Linked DNA regions of Homo sapiens: all the other regions are linked to region 1. The links are contacts of gene promoters, found by promoter capture Hi-C in blood cells and fetal thymus (Javierre and others, 2016). All regions are on one chromosome and are shown on one strand. Each heading gives the region's core, a stretch centred on a gene start or on the middle of the fragment in contact. The rest is flanking DNA. Distances are from core to core; before and after follow the strand shown. Region 1 holds the start of PRR5L (proline rich 5 like). Region 2 holds the start of LOC107984325 (a long non-coding RNA gene). Region 3 overlaps LOC107984326 (a long non-coding RNA gene).

Region 1 (4,343 bases), core at 1,812-4,311:
CCTCTACTTAGCATAAGAGGAGAAACTTCTTCAAGGTTCGTTCATGTTATAGCCTGTATCGGTACTTCATTCGTTTTTTGCTGAATAATATTTTTTTGTACAGATATACCATAGTTTGTTCATTCATCAGTTGTAGACATTTGAGTTGTTTCTACTTTTTAGCTGTTGTGAGTAATGCTGCCATGAGCAATCATGTACAAAGTTTTTGTGTGAACATGTGTTTCATTTCTCTTGGAGTATACACTGAAGAGTGGAATAGTGGAGTTTCTGGGCCATATGATTACTCTGTGTTTAACCTTTTGAGGAAGTGTAAGACCATTTTCCAAAGTGACTGCACCATTTTACAGTCCCCAGAAGCAATGTATAAGGGTTTCAATTTCTCCACATCTGCACCAACATTTGTTTAAAAAAAAAAAGAGACAGAGAGATGGGGGTCTCTGCTCTTTTACCCAGGCTGGAGTACAGTGGTGTAATCATGGCTCACTGTAGCCTCAAACTCCTGGGCTCAACTGATCTTCCCACTTCAGCCTCCTGAGTAGCTGGGACTACAAGCATGCACAACCATACCCAGCTAATTTGATTTTATTTGTTTTAGAGACAAAAAATATGTTTTGTCTCTAAAACATATGTTTGCTATGTTGCTCAGGCTGGTCTCAAACTCCTGGCCTCAAACGATCCTCCTGCCTCAGCCTTCTGAGTAGCTGGGATTACAGATGGGAGCCACTGCATCTGGCTCTGCCTTTTTGATTATAGTGATCCTAGTGGGTATGAAGTAGTATCTCATTGTGAGCCGTCTTGTTTTGAAGTTGCATTGGTATATCAAACACATTTTGTAACTGGTTCTGTCTTTTTGATTATAGCAATCTTAGCGGGTATGAAGTGGTATCTCATTGTGAGCAGTCTTGTTTTTAAGGTGCATTTGCATAGCAAACACATTTTGTCACTTACGCTACTTTGGTTCATTTGAGGTAACTGATGAAGGTTATGGAAGCTTAAATAAACTCCTATTCTCCCCTTTGGTTTCACTACTAAGTCCTGGCTGCCTTCTTTGTCAGAGGAATGCCTGCAGGAGGTGGATTAGGCCCAGGGTCCTGCAGTCCTTTAAGGAGAGCCCTTGCCACCCTCCTGTTATTCCCCTAGTTTCCCTTTTCCTCACCTTTGTCTCAGTCCAGAGATGAGGGTGGGTTGCAGGGGGAAAGGGCTGATCAATCTTTTTGACTTTATGCCCCCTTTGTGGCTTTGACGTGGCCTGATCAGCTCACCAGTCGTCTTAGTCCATATGGGCTAATATAACAAAATACCATAAACTGGGTGGCTTTATCAACAACAGAAATGTGTTGCTCATAGTTCTGGAGGCTGGGAAGTCCAAGACCAAGGCATTGGCAGATTCTATGTTTGATGAGGACGGTTTCCTGGTTCACAGATGGTGTCTTCTCACTGTGTCCTCAAATGGTGGCTGTGGGCAAGGGAGCTCTCTTGGGCCTCTTTATAAGGGCACTAATCCCATTCATGAGGGCTCCACACTCATGACCTAATCACCCCCCATAGGTCCCACCTCCAAATACCATCACCTGGGGGTGAAGATTTCAGCATATGAATTTGTGGGGGACGCATACACTCAGACCGTAGCGCAAGTTGGGGACAAAAGCTCTGAGTGTCAGCAGGGTTGCACTGGCTTGGAAATGCTGGAAATCTGGAAATTTCCAGATCAGGCATCACAAACTGCATGATCTAGGGCTCACATTGCATTAACAATGTTGTGTTTGGTCCACAGTGTTTCAAAATTGGAAAACTCGACATAAAAAATCCAGCCTTCTGGCTTTTCTTTAAAAATGTGCAGGCCCAACCATGCTGTTTCCACCTTTCTGCATTGCAGTATTTGGCTGAGGCTGAGCCCTGGCTGCCCTCTGAAGACTGGTGTGAGCTTTCAAATCCCCACAGTTCCCGCCACACACTGTTGCATCACAGTGGGCCCTCTCCACACATTTGTCACCTGTCTCATACTTGAGAATATTTATTAGTGCCCAATTCCTTCAGGGACCTAACAGGGTGAACTTAGGCCATAGTAGGTAACAGGGCTAAATACAGACACTTGGGATCCTGGCTTTCCAGCCATCCCCATACCATCTCCTCATGAGTACAAGCAAGTTTCAGGTGTAATGTGGGCATCTAATTTGTGATTTGTGGTTCTTGATCACTTTTATGGGCCAGCCACTGTTCTAAGAGTTTTGCATATATTAATTCATTTAATCCTCCTAGGAACCCAATCATAATCCCGGTTTACAGATGGGAAAACTAACACCCAGAGAAAACACTTGCTCACAGTCCATGGGTAATAGTTGCAGAGTCAGAATTTGAAGTCAGGAGCGAATGAGGTCATTTTGCAAGGTTGCTCATGACCTAGTGTCTGGTTCATTATGGGGGTTCAGTGGGTGCAAGCTTTATAATATTCATCTAGTCTTGCCAACTGCTGCTAACGTGCTGCATGGCTGAGGTTTAGTCCCAGCCAGATGTCCCATCACAAAAGTTAGGCATTGAAGTGGATGACATTTGTGTTTAGAGAAATGATATGTCTCATTCTTTTCAGCTCTAACTTGGGGTAAGTTTCTGAAAGCAAGTAAGAGAAAAGGAGAGGGACATTTGTGATCTCTCATGTATAGAAGACTAACAAAGAGGCAGGTGGTCACACCTGAAGGCACGTCCCCTGACCCTTATTACATAATGCCATGGGCTAAATGTCCAAAATTCCTCTCCCAGCTCTGATTGGCCTGGCTACTATGATGAGTGAAGTCCACCAGGGAAGACACTGTGGCCTCGTTTCTCATCCTCCTGTCCCCAGGAGTAACACAGAAGCAGCTAGTAACACAACAGCATTGTCCTCACATACACAGGCCTGCTTTGTTTCCCCACCACACAGAGCAGCCGCTGTAACAATGGCCCCGAATGACACTTTACCCTCCTTTCTCCAATGTTGCACTTGTTTTTTTAGTCTGGAATGGGCTAAACAATGATTTCCTGCAGGGGGTATCAGCTTTTTATATTTTCTGCCTGCTTCTCTGTCAGTCTTCAGGCCCCAGGTCAGTGAGTGGCAAGCCAGGCCCAGAGATCTCTGCGCCCGTTGGAACATCCCCTTCTCGGGAGGCTGGAAGGCCATGGTCATTCACCTCTCCCCAGCAAGGTGGGACCTGCCCTGGAAGAAGAAACCAGACCAGGTAACACAAGAGAGACAATGAGAGCTTGGGGCTAGGGGGTGGGGTTGCAGGGGATGGCTGAGTATCCAGCCCAAGGAGGATGGGTTTCTGGCTTCAAGACATCCGATTTTCTTGAAAGCCACCATCTGCTGTTAAATAAATAATGAAAAGCAACAGAGGTCAAGTTCAGCAGCCTCCCAGTTAGAAAAATACCCTCTGTCTGTCTGGCCCTGTTCAGTGCCTCTGATATCTCTGGGTGACCAGGGTCTTCATGGCCCATGTAGATTTACTGAGGTGGCTGTTGCCTTAATAATAGCTGCTAGTACTAAGCTCTTTCTCTATGTATTGCATATGTATACCTATTACTGTATGTCTCTCATTGAATGAATAGTAATGATAGCAAACCCTTATACAACATGCCTCAGATTCTTGCTTCTTTCAAACCCAGGGAGTCGGGTTCTAGAATCTGCGCTTTTCGTCATCATGCCCCTTGTAAAGCATTTTTTTTTACAACATCCTGCTAATAAACCAAGGTCATCACAATATTTCACTTTGAGAGGCAATGATATATGATGATAGCTATGTGTATTGTGAGTCCTTTGCCCTGTGCCAGGCAGCATTCTAACTGTTTTGCAGCTATTTCATCAGATAGATACTTTATGATCTCTATTTTATGGATGAGGAAATTGAAGTACGGATAATTTAAGTCATTCACCCGGGGTCACACAGTTGTTAAATGGCAGAGCCTGGATTTGAATTCAGTTTTCTCTTAAGTAGTATGGGAATCTTAGACCCGCCCAGCCCTGCTGGTCTGGAGTTATTCTGCTTCTCTAGGTCATGGTGTATAGAGGGTGACATTCAGTTTCTGGCTTCATAGAACATCTGCACCCAAGTTGACAGCTTAAGGAATTTTTTCGTTTGTTTATTTTAAATGATTTTTCTATTGGCATCAGCTTTTGTCTTGCTTGAAGAAGATGGAATTGCTCAATGACGACAGTGAAGGAATTTGAAAGGGTAAGAATTGCTCAATGAGTGGTATCTCTTTTTTGGCCAGAGACCAGGCTAAGTTGCCTCATATGTAAGAGAACATACGTCAAATACACAGGACTCATGGTATATTATGGAAGCAAACTTTATTTTTGCCTATCATTG
Region 2 (4,573 bases), core at 364-2,863, 370 kb after region 1:
GCTCATGCCTGTAATTCCAGCACTTGGGAGGCCTAGGTAGGTGGATTGCTTGAGGTCAGGAGTTCGAGACCAGCCTGGCCAACATGGTGAAACCCTGTCTCTACTAAAATACAAAAATTAGCTGGGCATGGTGGCGGGTGCTTGTGATCCCAGCTACTAGGGAGGCTGAAGCAGGAGAATTGCTTGAACCCAGGAGGTGGAGGTTGCAGTGAGTTGAGATCGTGCCACTGCGCTCCAGCCTGGGCGACAGCAAGACTCTGTCTCAAGAAACACAACAACAATTAAAAACACTTACTAACCAGGCTTTTCACCAAAAATAAAAGTTGCTAAGAGTTAAGAGTGCAACATGTATTTGAGATCATTAAACAGTTTTACATTCAAGGCATATAAAAACAGTGAAATGTGTTTTTTAGTAAAAGATTATAAGAAAGCATGGAAATCCAAATTTTGCCCAGGAATAAGGGATTATCTTACATTTAATAAGATAAAGCTAAATGTTTAAGTAAGTTGTGGAAAGATTGTAAAAATTAATCTTGCAAAAATGTGTAAACCTAACTAAATTCAAAAGCATATTACATGGTCTTTTCATAAATTGAGCATTGAAATAAAAGCACAACAAGGGTGTCTTAAGACACTAATCTGCCCGTTAGTAAAAGAGGTTATAAAGGGCTTGTAAAGATTTCACCTCATGGTCAAATTGGTTAAGATTAGATGGAATCATCTATAAGCTTCCATTTAAAGAAATTGGGATTGATATCAGTAAATTAATGCAAGGGTAAAATTTTGCTTAAACAGGATTTTCATGTAATAATAAAGGATAATAAAAATTTTTGCTTTTTGAGTCATCGTTTTGGCAAAATAAATAATTTATGGCAATTTGGAATTCTATTTCATAACATCAAGTGTTTTAAACCTCTAACATTTAACAGGCACCCAAAAATCAAACTTTAAGTTTCAAAATTGTCTTTCCTGATGCCTGGCTTTCTGGATGGTTCAGAGGGCCCCTGAAACATTCAGAAAAGAGGTGAACAGGATTATTTGACATGTTTTGTCACATGAAATTGCCAAAACGATGTCCAATCTTCTTTAAGTTATATTTTGATGAATAATACTAACATATGTTCCAAAATTGTATGGGATTTCTAAAATTTTAATGTCTAAATATATGCTATCAATAGTAATTAGGGGTAAAGTTATAAGCCATGGAGATAACTAAATTTCTTTGTCAGTCTTTTTTTTTTTTTTTTTTTTGAGATGGAGTCTCACACTGTTGCCTAGGCTGGAGTGCAGTATCGTGATCTTGGCTCACTGCAAGCTCCACTTCCCGTGTTCATGCCATTCTCCTGTCTCAGCCTCCTGAGTAGCTGAGACTACCGGCACCCACCACCATGCCTGGCTAATTTTTTGTATTTTTAGTAGAGACGGGGTTTCACCATGTTAGCCAGGATGGTCTCGATCTCCTGACCTCGTGATCAGCCTGCCTTGGCCTCCCAAAGTGCTGGGATTACAGGCATAAGCCACCATGCCCAGCCTGTCAGTCATGTTTTTAACTGTAACTATCCTGGAAATTTTGTCATTCAAAGACCATTTTGTCTTGCTTTGTTCCTTCTTAAAAGATAGGTTATAATCAAGCTATAAAACTTGAACAGGTGTTCTCAAATGTGAGTTTTTAATAGCCTTGAAGATTGTAACATTGGAATAGAGAAAGAATGTGTGGGACTCATGAAGAACTGAAATGTTCACGAATGTCAAGCAATACAAGAGTTAACTAAATGGACTGCACTCAGAAAGTTAAAGCAACCTTTTTGACTTTTACTTGGAATGTTGCTGATCCTTGTTTTGTTTTTCAGAGTTAAGAAAACTTATTTTAAACTATTTATGGCCTTTAATAATTGAGTAAGGTATACTCCTGCAAACAAAATTTGGAGCACGTTTGTTTCTGTCTGCCTGGTTCCTCTAGAAGTTGGAAACTGCCTGTGAGTACTCTTAACTTATGGAAATATAGTTGTTTGCATCAGTGCAATAAGATCCATTTTTCTTTTTCAACAGGACACAACTGGAAAAGCTAGTTATTTTACCAAGGCTTTGACCGAAAGGGTATGCTTCCCTTTAAGAGTCTATCTTTACTTCCAGTGCCGATAAAAGCCTCTTGGGGAGAACTGGCCTCATCCCTTGTCTACACAGTCCCCGCACAGGGTTCCTAATCTGTGGTCAGTAAAGAATGTCACTTTCTAACAGGTCCAGGAGCTCCAAGTTTATCTTGGGACTCACAGGATAAAAACTCATGGCTGGGCTTTAAGAGGTCTTATCTGAGATTCCTTTTGAAACAGAGTGCCATCAAAGCCAATCCAAAAGGCTTACATAGAAATAATTATTCTTACTGTACTTTATGCAAATAATCAGGCCAAATATAAAACTAAAGTTTATTCTACAAACAACACAATACTATCATAATTTGCTTTTACCAAAAATGGGGACTAGAGAGAGAAACTATGCTCTAAAGCTTATCATTATGCTCCAAAGCTTATCATACATTTGTCATTAAATCATAGTCTCATTAATTGTTTTTCAGCTTTTTGCCTACATTTTAGACTAACCCTGCTTATTCCTGTGAATCAAGTGGTGATCTCCTGCAGCTTGGAAGAAACAAAAAGGCATAGGTAATGTGAAAATCTAGATCAATATGCTAGTTCTGGGCAATTATCCTGTAAATTCTGCCAGGTAATGAGAGTGAATAGGGTGCCCATAACTCAGAGGTTTCTTTGTTTAGGGAAATAGAACCAAGGAACTTTATAGATCCCCAAAGGGAAATTCTATATCTTAGCAAGTAAAATTTTAGATGGAAATTATCTACTTACACCACACTTGCAGGAATTGCTCTACTCACTCTACTATTTGTAGTAGAGCTATACACAGTAGCACTGTTTTTTGTTTTGTTTTGTTTTGTTTTTTTGAGGCTCAGTTTCGCTCTTGTTGCCCAGGCTGGAGTGCAATGGCGGGATCTCGGCTCACTGCAACCTCCATCTCCCGGGTTGAAGCGATTCTCTCCTGCCACAGCCTCCCTGGTAGCTGGGATTATAGGCATGCGCCATCACACCCGGCTACTTTTTTATTTTTAGTAGAGACGGGGTTTTCCCATGTTGGTCAGGCTGGTCTCGAACTCCCAACCTCAGGTGATCCGCCCACCTCGGCCTCCTAAAGTGCTGGGATTACAGGCATGAGCCACCACGCCTGGCCGGTAGCACCTTTTAATTGAAATATTGGACGGAGAGTTTCCATTGCTGCAATATTTTTTGCTTAATTATTATCCTTATAGTAGGGATAATAGCTGCCAACAAAAGGGAAGCATGAAAGTTTTACTATCACTGAGTTTGCTAGAACTTCTTATTGGGTTTGGTAATATGTCACATCCTGGTTATGCAAAGGTTATAAAGGAAAGAGATTTTCTGTGGAAGTCATGAAAGGATTGATAATTGCAGGAAAAATGTAGCCAAGGTTAACACTAAAGTTATTCTAGCCACCCAATCCAATGCCACTTTTCCTAAAAGGAATGTTACTTTTATATGAATGTTTCTGATTATGTACAGCGACATCTAGTGGAGGCAAACTGGTATTACAATCCATTGGTGTAACTAACAGGTATCAAACTCTACTGTCATAGTTATGGTCTATAGGCCCTCCATTAACAGTGGTAATCTCGATACTCATATTCTAATCCTATATTTTAAACCTCCTTGTAAAATTTATCTCTTTTCACCTAGAAGCAATCAAACCCCAAATGGTGCTGCAGACAGAGCCACACATGGACACACCATTCTTCTGAGAACACTTAGATTGACCTCAAGAGGAGGCCCAACCACTGTCCTCCAACAAGATGCCCCTTTTTAGCAGGAAGTAGCCAGAAAGAATCGTCATCCAATACCCCCTAACGGCAGTTAAGTTTATGTCTGTAGAGGGGGGAAATAATACAGGAGTTATTAAGAAATTATTTTTAGAGGTTCCGAGATGGCTGAATAGGAACAGCTACAGTCTACAGCTCCCAGCGTGAGCGACACAGAAAATGGGTGATTTCTGCATTTCCAACTGAGGTATTGGGTTCATCTCACTGGGGCTTGTCGGACAGTGGGTGCAGCCCACAGAGTGTGAGCTGAAGCAGGGTGGGACATTGCCTCACCCGGGAAGTGCAAAGGGTTGGGGAATTCCCTTTCCTAGCCAAGGGAAGCCATGACAGACAGTACCTGGAAAATTGGGACACTTCCACCTTAATACTGGGCTTTTCCAATGGTCTTAGCAGATGGCACACCAGGAGATTATATCCCATGCGTGGCTTGGAGGGTCCCACGTCCATGGAGCCTCCCCCACTGCAAGCACAGCTAACAGAGATCGAACTGCAAGGTGGAAGTGAGGTGGGGGGAGGGGCATCCACCATTGCTGAGGCTTGAGTAAGTAAACAAAGCCTCTGGGAAGCTTGAACTGGGTGGAGCCCACTGCAGCTCAAGGAGGCCTGGTGTGCCTCTGTAGACTCCACCTCTGCGGGCAGGGCATAGCTGAACAAAAGGCAGCAGAAACTTCT
Region 3 (4,773 bases), core at 209-2,708, 440 kb after region 1:
ACAGTGTCAGAACCAGCCTAGATTCAAGGGGAGGGGACATAGACATTTCCCCTCAATGGAGAGGAGTATCAGATAATTTGTGGACAAGTTATGCTATCACAGGGCCCTTCCTACAGCCTCCACTGGCACACAGTACTTGCCTTCCCATGACATTTAAACTGAATTGTAACTGCCTTGTCTTAGTGAACATTGTGACTTCCAGAGGCCAGCACAGCACCATTGATAAATATGTGTTCAATGAGTAAATGAATGAATGAAAATTAAGAAGGTTTGCTTTACATTTTAGATATCCTTAAGGTTCTGACAAACAGGAAACCCTTGAAGCCACGAAGCTTCATGAGGAATCAAATCTTTCTTGTTGACTGTTACTTCCTCTGTATTGGCACAGTACCTGGCAGGTATATTACATCCTCAATAGCTGTTTGTTGAATGAATAAGTGAAAGAATGCATGTCTATCAAAGCTAGTTCCACTTCCCTTTCAAAGGCACCAATGTCGATTGTTTGTAAGTAAACCTCAAGCCATTTTTGCTGTACTAGCTGCAGAGCCAGCTCCATTTCTGTACTTCCTATTCTTCTTATATCTCTAGCCCCAGATAACTCTGGGGAGCCACATCCCCAAGGACTTGACATTATACTTCACACGTGTATTCTCAGACACTTGAAGCAGGGGTAGAAGTGGAACACTGTTTTGAAATTCATTGAGCTCAGAAAAAAATGCCTTCAGAGCTAAGAGGTCTGTCAGTTATAATGTACAGACTTCTGGAGCTTATTTAGCCTTTTCTTTTAGGGGCACATTGGAAAATAGGAAATTGGAGGACTTGTAGAAGGATGTGGTAAATGTGATAAGCATATGAAGCTCTTTTCTGTGTGCTCAAAGAGGATGCAAACAAGGACTATATGAACATTGCTAGGGGTCCTGAGGGGCTCAGAATTATAGTCAATTCTTGCAGTGGTATTTTCAGCTCTATATGATGGTTTCTTCTTGGGGCTTTTTACTCTAGTGAGTTTACTTTTGAGTACTTTGGATTCAGAGTTTGCTCACAAGGGACCAGGACAATTGCTTGTAAAGGAAGGGATTCCTCTGAATCTTGAGCTTTGGTTTAAACTTCCCTTTTGAGCTTTAGACCCTTATATCAGACTGCATACCACAGATCTCACCTGGATATCCCACAGCTATTTCAAACTGCACTTGCCCAAAATAGAATTCATTCTGTGTTCCCACAATTGAGTTCTTATTTCTATAGTTTATATTGAGATCAAAGGCAGCAGCACCTTCCACACAGTCATCTGAGCAGAAGCACAGATATCATCCTTCAAGCTTCCCTAAATGTTGGTGGTAATAGATAATATTTATTGATAGCATCCTATGTGCCAGGTCCTGTGCTACGTACTTTATGTACATCAACCCCCTTAGTCATCACTGCAGCCTGTGACTAAGATTGTGTTATTATCTGCATTTTAAAGCTGAAGAAACAGGTGACTGCGAAAGTATCCCAACAGACCTTTTTGCCTGAAGCTCTTCTCAGATTTATCTACTGCATGGCAAGCTGATTTCTCTTTTAAATAAGCAGACCTGCATGTACCATGCCCTTCCTTACAAGCTTCACTGGCTCCCCGTTGTCCTCAGAATGTAGCCCAAACTCTTAGCCAGGAGTACAGCACCCTTTATTACTTGGTCACTGAGCACCCATCCAACCTCATTTCCAGTGGCTCTTACCTTGGCCCCCTATCCCCTCACTCCCATGTTGTAGCCATGTTGGATACTTGCCAGCACTTGAAATATGCATATTTTCCAGCCTCATTTAATTCTTCATCCTAAAAATACTTTGGGGGAGCCCACCATATGCTAGGTACTGTCTTAGGCACTAGTGCTATAGCTGTGAACAAAACAGATCAAGGCCTGCCCTCATGGCACTTGCATTCTAGTGGAGAAGTCAGACAATGCACAGGCAAATAGCTACATAGACCATGTACTGTCCGAGTCCTGAGTGCTGTGCAGGGAGATAAAGCAGAGAAAAGGGGCAGAAAGTGACAGCAGGGTTCTATTTTATTTGAGATGGCCAGAGAAGGCACTTTGCAATGGCCCTGAGATGAGAACTTGCCTGGAATGTTTGAAGAACATCAAGGAGGCCAGTGTGGCTGGGAGGACGTGGAACCAAGGGAGGTCTCTAATATACCAAGGAGCCCATCACGTAAGGCCTTGAAGGCATGACCAAGACTTTGGATTTTATTGCAGGTGGGAGAGGAAATTATTGCAAGTTTGAGATGAGGGAGTGATGGAATCTGATTGGTATTTCACAAGGATCATGCTGATAGCTGTGTGACTGTTGAACAGACTGTAGTGGGGTAAGAGTGGAAGGAGGGAGACCAGGTAGGAGGCACCTGTGCAGCTCTTGTTCCCATTTCAGGAATATTCATTCCCCATGCCCTTCCTCACCTTTGCCTGGTGACTGCTACCCAGCTTTCTACACCCATCTCAGGAGTATCTCCATTCAAAAATCTTCCTCAGTTCTCTTCCTCTCTATCCTCCTGATGCAGAATTTTATGTATTTTTAATAGTATGTAATCTCACTATTTTGTGGTTATGTATATATCTGACTTTCATAATTAACTGTGAGGTCAATGAATCCTAAAGGGTGGGATCTATTTCTGTTTCTTGCTTTTCTTTGTGTTTCTAGCTCCCTGGCATGGCACCTGATAGTGTTGATAGGAATCAATGAGGATTTGAGAAATACATGAGTGAATGAACAAAGGAACAGCTCATCTGGCTGATACTAAACATTCAAATGCTTATTTGATTGAACAAATGAGGGTTCAAATAATTCCATTCAGTCAAAATTGTCTATGTATTTATAGGCCAACTTTAAAATGTAACTTGCATATATAAAGGCATCAAATTTCAGAAATTGTTGTGGAAACTAGATTTGTGGAGTCGTGGAGAAGTCCTTTTGAATACAGTGCTATCTGTTGAAAAGAGCTCCAGGCTGTCAGCTTATTGACTAACGTGTTTTGTTGTTGTCATTTTTTTTTGTTGATACATAAGGATTGTACATATTTCTGGAGTACATGTGATATTTTGATATGTGCATACCATGTGTAGTGGTCAATAGAATATTATTGAGCCATAAAAAGAAAGAAATCTTGTCATTTGCAGCAATGTGAATGGAACCAGAAGATACTATGTTAAGTGAAATAAGCCAAACTTTGGTCATGATTTCCATCACTCACAGCAGCCCTGGAGTACCAGCACACTTAAACAGTGCAACCAGGATCAGTCAAACAGAACCAGAACCATTTAGGTTTATGTTGTTATGGATTTTTGCAAAACTCCCTTTAGATTCCCATGGGTGGAGTGTGACTTATGGCTTCTCAGATTATTCATTTGTTGAATGGACTTCAGTGGGTTTTCTGTAAGCCCCTGCCTTGCTTAAAATAAATCTGATATAAGCAAATCTTTTTTTCTTTTTGAAATAACAAAACAAAACAAATGACTGAAAGGTGATTTATTTGATGAATGAGTTAAGAGATTATAGGATTCCTTTAACAAGCCTCTTGAATGCATTTAAAATGATGTAATTTGTTAAAGAAAAACATTTACATGGAACTTCTAAGGGCCCAGAAGTTAGCAATTAGATTTGAGCAATTCTAACTTGGACAGTTTCCATCAGCTATACTCTGTGGGTGTCTGTACTAGACAGTGCTCTGCTGATATTGAGGGGAGTCTCAAAGGAGTAGAAGAGGCCAGATTCTGGGTCTCCATCTAGACCTGCTGTGTCCAAAATGTAGCCCCTAGTCGTATGTGGCTATTGTGCCCCTGAAATGTGGCTAAGGCTACCAAGGAACTAAATTTTTAACTTAATTATAATTCATTTTCATTTAAAACGGATATTTTATTCCATTATTAGAAAACTTTTAAGTATGTTTAGAACAACTTTGGGTCTGTGGGTCTTTTTTAGTTATAAATTTTGTATACTTTAAATATAGATCAACTATTTCTGATTTTTCTGATGAACATTTAGTGTACCAATTAAGATGTCCTGTAAGTATAAAATGCACACTGACTTTGAAGACTTTAGCACAAAAGGTTGTAAAATATCTCACCAATGCTTTTTATACTGATTACACATTGAGTTAACATTTTGGATATGTTGGGTTAAAACATTTTAACAGAATTAATTTCATTTGTTTATTTTTACATTTTAAATGTGATTATTAAAATTTTAAAATTACATACATGCTTATTACATTTCTACTAAAAAGTGCTGGGAGTCTGTGCTAGGTATGCCTATTACCTCTGCACTATCCATATCCTGTTCTAGGTGAAACCACACAGCACAATGCACTGAGAACCCTGGCTTGGTGATCCCATCTAATTAGACCAGCACTGGGCAACCAGGATTGAGAACCAGTGTTATGATATTTGCTTACTCACTTGGTCCCTGATGCAGGCTTTTTCTCTATGGGTATAAATAAGACATCAGAAGAGCTCTACCATCCCTCCCAAGAACTTCTTAAGTAGAGCCAACCAAATTTTCTCACCTAAGGTTTTGGAATCAAGACACAAGTCTTGCTGGTAAGAAGCTGTTGGACATGGGACTCCAAGGCAATGAGTTAGAGATAGCTTCCTGGGAACCCAAAGCCTTGCTTGGGGAGTAAGAGCCTTAGAGGATGCCAGTATGCAGTGTGGAGAGGGGGCCCACATGCAGAGTCCTGAAGCTTAGGGAGAAACACAGTGGAGACTTGGCTACACCTCCCACTTGGGGTTTTGTGAG

The links. Contacts are between HindIII fragments. The CHiCAGO score rates a contact against its expected background, and 5 or more counts as called.
Region 2: a contact is called between a fragment that was not itself captured here and the fragment with the promoter of PRR5L in region 1, in 1 of 17 cell types (total CD8 T cells). The highest score is 6.8, in total CD8 T cells.
Region 3: a fragment that was not itself captured here is called in contact with the fragment with the promoter of PRR5L in region 1 in 1 of 17 cell types (fetal thymus); the score reaches 5.9 in fetal thymus.

What each region holds. Positions count from the first base shown.
Region 1 is chr11:36,293,227-36,297,569 of GRCh38, forward strand. PRR5L (proline rich 5 like) reads left to right here and starts at 3,062. Exons shown (of 9, transcript NM_001160167.2): 1 at 3,062-3,212. The HindIII fragment of the contact is 2,178 bases long and covers 2,438-4,343 here.
Region 2 is chr11:36,669,426-36,673,998 of GRCh38, forward strand. It overlaps LOC107984325 (a long non-coding RNA gene), which reads left to right and starts at 1,464. Exons shown (of 3, transcript XR_001748186.1): 1 at 1,464-2,097; 2 at 2,573-2,660; 3 at 3,762-4,037. The HindIII fragment of the contact is 1,775 bases long and covers 727-2,501 here.
Region 3 is chr11:36,738,132-36,742,904 of GRCh38, forward strand. The region is part of intron 3 of LOC107984326 (a long non-coding RNA gene); the gene reads left to right. Among named protein-coding and RNA genes, the nearest start is that of RAG2, 140 kb to the left of the region's middle. The HindIII fragment of the contact is 283 bases long and covers 1,318-1,600 here.